Regions from separate parts of the Homo sapiens genome. Here regions 2 and 3 are each linked to region 1. Evidence: promoter capture Hi-C in human tissues and cell types (Jung and others, 2019). All regions are on one chromosome and are shown on one strand. Each heading gives the region's core, a stretch centred on a gene start or on the middle of the fragment in contact. The rest is flanking DNA. Distances are from core to core; before and after follow the strand shown. Region 1 holds the start of RASGRP2 (RAS guanyl releasing protein 2). Region 2 holds the start of SNX15 (sorting nexin 15). Region 3 holds the start of NAALADL1 (N-acetylated alpha-linked acidic dipeptidase like 1).

What was found. Contacts are between HindIII fragments. The study calls those that stand out against the background at their distance.
Region 2: the fragment with the promoter of SNX15 here is called in contact with the fragment with the promoter of RASGRP2 in region 1 in 4 of the 25 tissues and cell types used here (adrenal gland, aorta, dorsolateral prefrontal cortex and 1 more).
Region 3: the fragment with the promoter of NAALADL1 here is called in contact with the fragment with the promoter of RASGRP2 in region 1 in 5 of the 25 tissues and cell types used here (dorsolateral prefrontal cortex, heart left ventricle, heart right ventricle and 2 more).

Annotation. Positions count from the first base shown.
Region 1 is chr11:64,742,852-64,745,551 of GRCh38, reverse strand. RASGRP2 (RAS guanyl releasing protein 2) reads left to right here and starts at 1,410. Exons shown (of 17, transcript NM_001098671.2): 1 at 1,410-1,549; 2 at 2,615-2,700. The coding sequence starts at 2,686. RefSeq lists silencers at 294-493, 744-853, 1,844-1,893, 2,054-2,103, 2,414-2,700. The HindIII fragment of the contact is 18,641 bases long and covers 1-2,700 here.
Region 2 is chr11:65,026,000-65,028,699 of GRCh38, reverse strand. SNX15 (sorting nexin 15) reads right to left here and starts at 1,261. Exons shown (of 8, transcript NM_013306.5): 1 at 1,064-1,261. The coding sequence starts at 1,162. ARL2-SNX15 (ARL2-SNX15 readthrough (NMD candidate)) reads right to left here. Exons shown (of 11, transcript NR_037650.2): 4 at 1,064-1,382. It also overlaps the pseudogene EEF1A1P18. RefSeq lists a silencer at 1,130-1,299 and an enhancer at 1,149-1,443. The HindIII fragment of the contact is 29,710 bases long and covers 1-2,700 here.
Region 3 is chr11:65,057,092-65,060,053 of GRCh38, reverse strand. It overlaps NAALADL1 (N-acetylated alpha-linked acidic dipeptidase like 1), which reads left to right and starts at 1,501. Exons shown (of 18, transcript NM_005468.3): 1 at 1,501-1,717; 2 at 1,804-1,976; 3 at 2,058-2,179; 4 at 2,561-2,683. The coding sequence starts at 1,533. The HindIII fragment of the contact is 22,908 bases long and covers 1-2,962 here.

The sequences.
Region 1 (2,700 bases), core at 161-2,660:
GTGGGGAGCCAGGCTTCCGGGGCCCCGTTCCTCCTGTGTGAACTGGGCCCCCCGCCCCCATTCCCAGACATCAAGGCCGCGTCTCCAGATAGCCACGATTTCATTCCTCGCTCCCCACAGGTCCCTCTCCCCAAAATATTCCCATCTTGTCCTAGCCCATCCCCCAGACTATCTCAAGGACCAGCTGTCCCCACGCCCCCGACCTCCACTAGGCCTGTGCCACCCGCTGCCTGCAGGAAGACGCCCGGTCCCGGGCCGGGTTAGCCCCATGGGAACGGTTTGTCTCGAAAACAGGAACCCGAGCTGGGGGCTGGGCGGGGCGCCCCTTCCCCACCGCAGTCCGCTTCCTGCCCCTCCCGGCTTCCTCCGCCCGACACCCAGGCAGGGCGGGGGGCACTGGGGCGTCCGCGGTTGGGGGAGGGGCTCTTCGTTTCGGTCCCCCCTCCGCGTCCCGGGCGGCGGGGCCTCCGGTCGCCCGCCCTCGGGGCAGCTAGTGGCGCAGCCCCCCGCCCGCGGCCCTGGCCTCCCGGGCGGCGCGGCAGGGGAGGGGTTAAGCTGCCGCAGGGACCGCCGCGTGCGGGGCGAGAGGGAGCCCCCGGTGGGGGTGGCGCAGCCGGCGGTGCGGAGCTCCGCGCAGGGGCGGAGGGGGGAGGGGGCAGCCTGGCGCGGGGGCGGGGGCGGGGCGGCGGGGAGCGGGGCCGCGGCGTGGAGAGCGGGCGGGAGCCGCAGCCGCAGCGAGGCCGGCGGGCGGGAGCGCACGGAGGTGGGGTCGGCCAGGCCGGTGCGGGCTCCTTGCGGCAGGTCCCAAGAGTGAGTGGGCGAGCGCGGGCGGGGCGCCAGGCGAAGGAGGGCGCGGCCCCCAGCGACTCCCCCCCCGCCCAGGGCGGCGCGGGCGGGCTGGGGGCGGCGAGCGGGTGGGGAGTCTGCGGCCCGGGTCTGGGAGAGGGGGCAGCGGCCACGAGAGCTAAGGCGCGCTGGATCCCCGGAGGGCGGAGGACCTCCACGGTGCACCCAGCTTTTCCCAGCCACCTTCCAGCGGGGCCCTCCCCCGCGTACCCCCATTTGGCAGATGAGAAAATTGAGGCTCCCAGAGGCCAAGTGATTCTCAAGGTCACACGAGGAAGCGGTAGAGCCAGGCGGGGACGGCTCTGGGTGGCTCTTAGGAAAAGTCCGCCTGAGAACTCCGTACAGGAGCTCCCCTGTCCTCCAGCCTGGGGGAGTGAGTATGTGTAGGGCCGGGGTACCTTTCCGTGGGGCAAGGCTCTGCCAAAATCTGGGAGTGAGGGGAGTCAGGGAGCTGGGGCCGCAGGGCGGGCCCTGCACCGCAAATGGGAGGGGGGCGACGGAATGGGCGTGCGCACCCATGGGGGTGTGTGCATGTGTGTGGGAGTGTACATGCGTGGAGAGGCACTGCCTTGCGTGTGTGCACACGTGTGAGGATGTCAGCGCCTGTGTGGCCGCGGGACTCAAGGCTGGCCTGGCTCAAGTGAACAGCACGTCCAGGAGGCGACCTCGTCCGCGGGTTTGCATTCTGGGGTGGACGAGCTGGGTATGTGTGCCTGAGGGTTTCTTCGTGCAGGTGTGCACAGGGTGTGGGTGCCATTGTGTGTGAGAGACGGAGGATGGGAGGCCGGTGCCTGTGGCCCGGTGCGTGTAAGTGCGGACGCCTGCACCTCCACTTAGGTCCCCGGCCTCCGACGAATAACTTGGGTGTGGAGTGTTTGCCCCTGCCAGGGTGCGTATGACCCCGCCAGTGACCGGAGTTGCTAATGGTGTCATGCACCCACCGGCCACCCTTGGCGCGAGCGCCCCCCTCTGGACACCCTGCTCCGTGCGCGCTCACAGTTCGCCTGTGCGGGGCCGGGGCCAGGGTCAGGAGCCGGGGATAGGGAGGAAGAGGGCCTGTGGACAAGCTGAGCCGGGACCCCTGGGACCTTTGCGGAGGTGGCCTGGGAGCGCTCAGTTCCCAGGCTCAGGCTTCCCGCTGACGCCTCCTGGCCGCAGCGGGCTCCCCCCGCCCCAGGAATGTTCCTCTCCCATCCAGTCCGCCTCCCCTAGGGCAGGCCCCCTGGGGGCTGCCGCAGCCCCGCCTCGCCTTCCTGGGCTCCCGGGAGGGGGCGAGGCGGGCAGGACGCCTGGGTTCTCTCCCCCCACCTCCCATACCAGGGAGAAATTCCTCCGAGGTCCCCTCAGGCTCTGGGTTCCCAAAATAACCCTGCGGGGGAAGGGAGGCTGTGGAGGGAGGGAAGCGGGAGGGGCGCAGAGCCGAGCTGCGGGGTGCTGCAGGTGCCTCTGGGGAGAGGGCGCGAGGAGAAGGCGCCCTGCGGGGGGCTGGGCGCCAGCCAGTCCTGGGATCTTGGTTCGTCCCCATCCTCGTGAAGCCCCTCGGCCTTCCCGCGACTCCGAGGGTGGGCCGGAAGCCTCTCTGCGGGTCCGTTTCCCAACTGGCGGGTTGCACCATCCCGGGCCAGACCGTTTAACCCCGGGAGTGGCCGCGGGGGACAACTCCGCCCCTGTCCAGCAGGGGGCGTGCCCGCCCCGCCCCGTTTCTGCCCGCGGGGCCGCTCCCCCGCCCGCGACTCCGCAGACTCCCGCTCTGCCTCTCCCGGGACAGGGGTTCGGTCCGAGCCCGGTGGGAGGCTCCCGGAGCGCAGCCTGGGCCCAGCCCACCCCGCGCCGGCGGCCATGGCAGGCACCCTG
Region 2 (2,700 bases), core at 12-2,511, 280 kb before region 1:
TTTTTTTTTTTAAAGTTGTGTGTGTGTCTGTATTTTAATATTGATCCGGGGTCTCACTATGTTGCCCAGGCTCGTCTTGAGCTCCTGAGCTCAAGCAATCTGCTGCCTCAGCCTCCCAAAGTGCTGGGATTTACAGGCATGAGCCACTGAGCCCGGCCTTATTTGCATTATTTTTAGGCATGGAAAAGACGTAAACGGTTTGGGGAAAGCATATTTTAAATAGCTAAGATTCTGCACTTAGATCACTTTGGAAGTGTCCTTATGTGCCTGCTTTGCTTTTAGAGTTAACTAATGCACCAGCTTAATAGTCGCCTGGTTGAAAATTCTAAAAGTACAAAAAATTTACAGTAAAAAGTCTTCCCCTAACTCCTGTCCCCAGTGACACAGTTCCTCTCCCTGGGGACCTTCCTTGTTACCAGTTCTTGTTATCATTCTACAGGTGTCCTGTTTTACTGTTTCATTTTTAATTATTGTCATGGTTTCCTCCATGTCTCTCTATAAATTGTGCTTATGATGTTGTTATCGCTTCATATATCAACTCTAGCCTATCTATCTTCCTGCTGTGACCTTGATATGGCGACTTACTCCTTAAGTCCTTCTGAACTGCATCAATTTTTTTCAACCACTGATCAGTATTATTTTTTGAAAAATTAAAAATGGTTAAACTCGTTAAAGGGAGTTTATGTAACATCAAACAAACCAATAAACAAAACTTACTCTACGAGAATGGAGTACTAATATTTGGATTAAACCAGAGTTTTCATGTTAATTTAGAGAAATTCACAGCCTGATGCCCAGACACTACACTCCGGGCGTGGGCATACACGCCTTGCCTGTCCGGGAACGGCCGTCAACGCCCTTTTAAAAAAGACAGCGCCCACCCAGGACCCCGCCCCCTGGTGGTTAAAGATGTAAACTAAGCCTCGTACTGCAACCTCCCCTTAAAGGGGAAACCCATTTCTGTCGTCTAAAAAGGGAGCAGTGGCTGCACCGCCTTTCCTTAAGGTAAAACTCGGCGCCCCTCTAGTTAAAAGGGTAAAGTACGCGCTGGGCCCCACCTCACCTGCGCGGTTACTTTGTACTCGGTGTAGCCCTTGGGGTGAGTCCTGGGGTCCGACACTGTGTAGTGCCGCAGGAAGTCATCCTTCGCCTGGCGGGACATGAAACCGAGCTGGAGCGGAGCGGAGCGCCGGCCTCCACCTCCTCGCCGTCCCCACCCCTCCGGCCCAGCCTCCGCCCGCCGCCGCCTCGCCAGGCCTGCGCTCTTCTTCCTCTGGCCTAGGGATTTTGTCGCAAGTGACAGCGCTGTTCCGATCCCGGGTGCGCGGCCAAGGGAGCGTCTGAAAAGTTCCTTCTCTGTGGTGAAGCGTAAACCCAGGTCACTGGAAAGATTGGTTGGGAAGGCTGGGATCACTCGTCTCATTTCTGCCGGGTGATCAAGCCCACCCTATCCAAGCGTAAACCCTTGTCACAGACTTCCAAACGACTTCTCCCCGCTTCCTAAATCCCTGCTTTCGTTCATCCACCCAACTCTTATTGTGTCCAGTATGTACAGGACAACGTCAAATTATTTCCCTGTCTCCCTCCACAGGATTCCCTAATTCATGTTTTCTGGAAAGTAGAGGAAGCAAAGAAGGTTGGAGAAGCAGGATGGTGTCATGGGCTCTGAGTCACGACTCTTACTAGCTGTAGGAGTTTCCCTTAACTACTCAGCCTCAGTTTCTCATCTGTAGAATGGAGATGTTTATAATAGAATCTGTGTAGGGCAGTGGAGCTTTTTTGCGATGGGTTTGCTGCCAGAACACAGGTGTCGTGAAAACCACCGTTAAATCAAAGCCAAAATGGGGGTTTGGCGCGGTGGTTCACGCCTGTAATCCCAGCATTTTGGGCAGTGGAGGCAGGTGGATCACTTGAGGTCAGGAGTTCAAGACCAGCCTGGCCAACATGGTGAAACCCCGTTTCTACTAAAAATACAAAAATTAGCTGGGCGTGGTGGCGCACGCCTGTAATTCCAGCTACTCCAGGGGCTGAGCTGGCTGATGGCTTCAGCCCAGGAGGTTGAGGCTGCAGTGAGCTGCAATCACACCACTGCACTCCAGCCTGGGCAACAGAGTGAGACTCCATCTCAAAAGAAAGGGAGCAGGGGAGGGAAAAGACTCAGCTCAACATCATCATCTGATTTGGGCAAGTCCAGCACTACTGGCCATCTGATCTACAAGTGTGGTGGGATCCACAAAAGAACCATCGACAATTTTGAGGAAGCTGCTGAGATGGGAAAGGGCTCCTTCAAGCATACCTGGGTCTTGGGTAAGCTGAAAGTTGAACGTGAGAGTGGTATCACCACTGATACCTCCCTGCTGGCAATTGAGACCAGCAAGTACTATGTGACCATCCTCAATGGCCCAGGATGCAGAGACTTTATCAAAAACCTGACCTCAGGCTAATTGTGCTGTCCTGATTGTTGCTGCTGGTGTTGATGAATTTGAAGCTGGTAATTCCAAGAATGGGCAGACGCGTGAGCACACCCTTCTGTCTTACACGCTGGGTGTGAAACTAATTGTTGGTGTTAACAAAATGGATCCCAATGAGCCACCCTAAAGAGGAGAGATGGGGGCCGGGCGTGGTGGCTCACGCCTGTAATCCCAGCAGTTTGGGAGGCAGAGGTGGGTGGATTAGGAAGTCAGGAGTTCAAGACCAGCC
Region 3 (2,962 bases), core at 252-2,751, 310 kb before region 1:
GCAGAGTCAAGGCAGGATAGGCCATGGGAGGGTGGGAGAAGTCCCAGCTCAAGTCCCTAGGGACCCCCCCAGCCCCTCCTGGCTCTCCGTGAGGTCTGGAAGAGGCTCAGTATGTGTATGGCATACTTGGGGTCTCACTTCCCTCTCAGCCCTTGCAAATGCTGGAACACCTTTTCAGCCTTGGAGGACCCCCTCAGATGTTCCCTCCTAGTCAGAACTCCTCACTCTTTCACTGGGAGCATGGTGATCCTCCCTCTACAGGGCACTTACCACATGGCTGAACCTAAAGCCTGTCTGCCTCGCCTGCTGGATTTTGCTTCCCCACAGCCTTGCATGGCTCTAGTATAGCACAGAATGAACAGTGCTTGCATGTATAAAGGAAGGAATGAATAAGTGAATGGAGGGATGGGTGGATGGATAAATAGGAGGGTGGATGACGGAGTCCAGGCAGAGCCAGGGGATAGAAGAGGAAGTCACCTCGCCAGGGAGGCATGGGCTTCCCCTGCTGCCTCCTCTGGGACAGCCTCCCTTCCCAGGACTCCCATTCCTCGTATCGCTGGGCTCCCTTCAGGATAGACACAGAGAGTTCTTCTGGGTCCTCCTTCTTCCTTTAGCTCTAGGCCTTACATTTTCCAGAGTCAGATGAGGGATGAGTAGTTAAAATTGATGAGCTCCCACTACATGTCAGACACTGCACTAGCTATTTCTACAGATGCCATATTGTTTAATGAAAATGACACCATAGCCGGCACGGTGGCTCACTCCTGTCATCCCAGCACTTTGGGAGGCTGAGGCGGGTGATCACCTGAGATCAGGAGTTTGAGACCAGCCTGGCCAACATGGTGAAACCCCATCTCTACTAAAAATACAAAAATTAGCTGGACATGGTGGTGCACACCCGTAATCCCAGCTACTCGGGAGGCCGATGCAGGAGAATCACTTGAGCCCGGGAGGTGGAGGTTGCAGTGAGCCGAGATCACACCACTGGACTCCAGCCTGGGTGTCAGTGGAAGACACAGTCTAGAAAAAAAAAAAAGAAAACAGGTGTAGAGAAGCTGAGTGGATTGCCCAAGGTCACACAGCTTACGTCCAGCAAGAAGGGGGATCTCAACTCAAAATCTGCTCAGGCAGGTAGGGCTGGGTATGCTGTAGATCGGCTGCCTTGGAGGGAGGCAGAGGCAGTGAGGGTGGGCAGTGGGCACGGCCCTGCTGTGAACACAGGAGCTCTGAGTTCCAGCCCTGGCTTGGCCTCTGTTTTCCTGGGACACCCTGGATGAGCCCCTTCCCTCTCGGCTTCAGTGTCCCTGGGTGACCTTGCTGCCCTTGGAGAGCCATTCCAGGCAAATGGTGCAGGATGTGGTGGATGTGGATGGCTCCTGGCTCTCACTGCGGGATGTTCCCTCACTCTCCCTGCCAGCTGGGGGTCAAAGGGCAGTGCCACCCATGGGGTAATGTTTAACCAGGCACAACACCCCCTCTATAGGGAATAACCTATAGACCAGTCCTACCCCAGCTGGCCAAGAGTCCGCAGGATGCAGTGGACGAAGGTGTTGGGGCTGGGGCTGGGGGCTGCTGCCCTCTTGGGGCTGGGGATCATCCTCGGCCACTTTGCCATCCCCAAAAAAGCCAACTCACTGGCCCCCCAGGACCTGGACCTGGAGATCCTGGAGACCGTCATGGGGCAGCTGGATGCCCACAGGATCCGGGAGAACCTCAGGTGAGAAGTGGGGCCATCTGCTCCTCCGTTTGCCAGAGGCCCCCTCCCTGATGCTGGCCCTGCCCCTCCCTCTGCCCACCCTGCAGAGAACTCTCCAGGGAGCCACACCTGGCCTCCAGCCCTCGGGATGAGGACCTGGTGCAGCTGCTGCTGCAGCGCTGGAAGGACCCAGAGTCAGGCCTGGACTCGGCCGAGGCCTCCACGTACGAAGTGCTGCTGTCCTTCCCTAGCCAGGAGCAGCCCAACGTCGTGGACATCGGTGAGGTCCTGCCCAGTCTTGGGAATGCCCGGGGGTGGGGAGCTGCTGGGCCCAGCCATGATACTGCCACCCCTCCAACAGTGGGCCCCACTGGGGGCATCATCCACTCCTGCCACCGGACTGAGGAGAACGTGACCGGGGAGCAAGGGGGGCCAGATGTGGTACAACCCTATGCTGCCTATGCTCCTTCTGGAACCCCACAGGTGGGCCCAGAACCCCCCCTACTGCTCTGGCCCAGCTCCCTTGGTTCCACCCAGGGTTCTCCCCACCCTGACCCAGGGAACGTGCCTCAACTGGGGCACAGCGCGCCCTCCGGAATTTACTCACCGGGACACTCCATCGCTGCTCCTTTCCTCCATCAGTCATTCAACAAACACTAGTGGCTCTGCTCAAGGCCAGGTCTGTTACAGGGCACCCAGACATGGAGGAAATGAGGGGTGACTGTTCTTGGGGAGCTTACAAGCTCTGGGTGAGGTGGGGGAACAGAATCTAAATTCTCCCTCCTGCCATGCAAACTTCCACCCCCCTTCCCCACCCACACTTCGCTGGGCCCAGCTCTAAGGATCACCCCCTCTTGGGACTAGGGCCTCCTCGTCTATGCCAACCGGGGCGCGGAAGAAGACTTTAAGGAGCTACAGACTCAGGGCATCAAACTTGAAGGCACCATTGCCCTGACTCGATATGGGGGTGTAGGGCGTGGGGCCAAGGTGAGTGGCAGTCCCCCAGTGCAGGAGGCCTCGGTGAGGAAGGGGCTGGGCAGTGGACTGGAGGAAGTGAGGGGAAGGGGAAGGAGAAGAGGCAGTGTTGAGTGGGGAACCAAGCCCCAGGGTGGGGCAGGAAAGGCAAGGTGTTTTCGGGTTGTCCCACCAATGGGCTGTGTGGCCTCGGATGCCTCCCTGACCCTCTCTGAGCTGTAGGAAATAAAGGGGTTGAGTACAATTTTCAGGTTTGGTATTCCAGAAGTCTAAGTCCTCCTGTGAAATAGT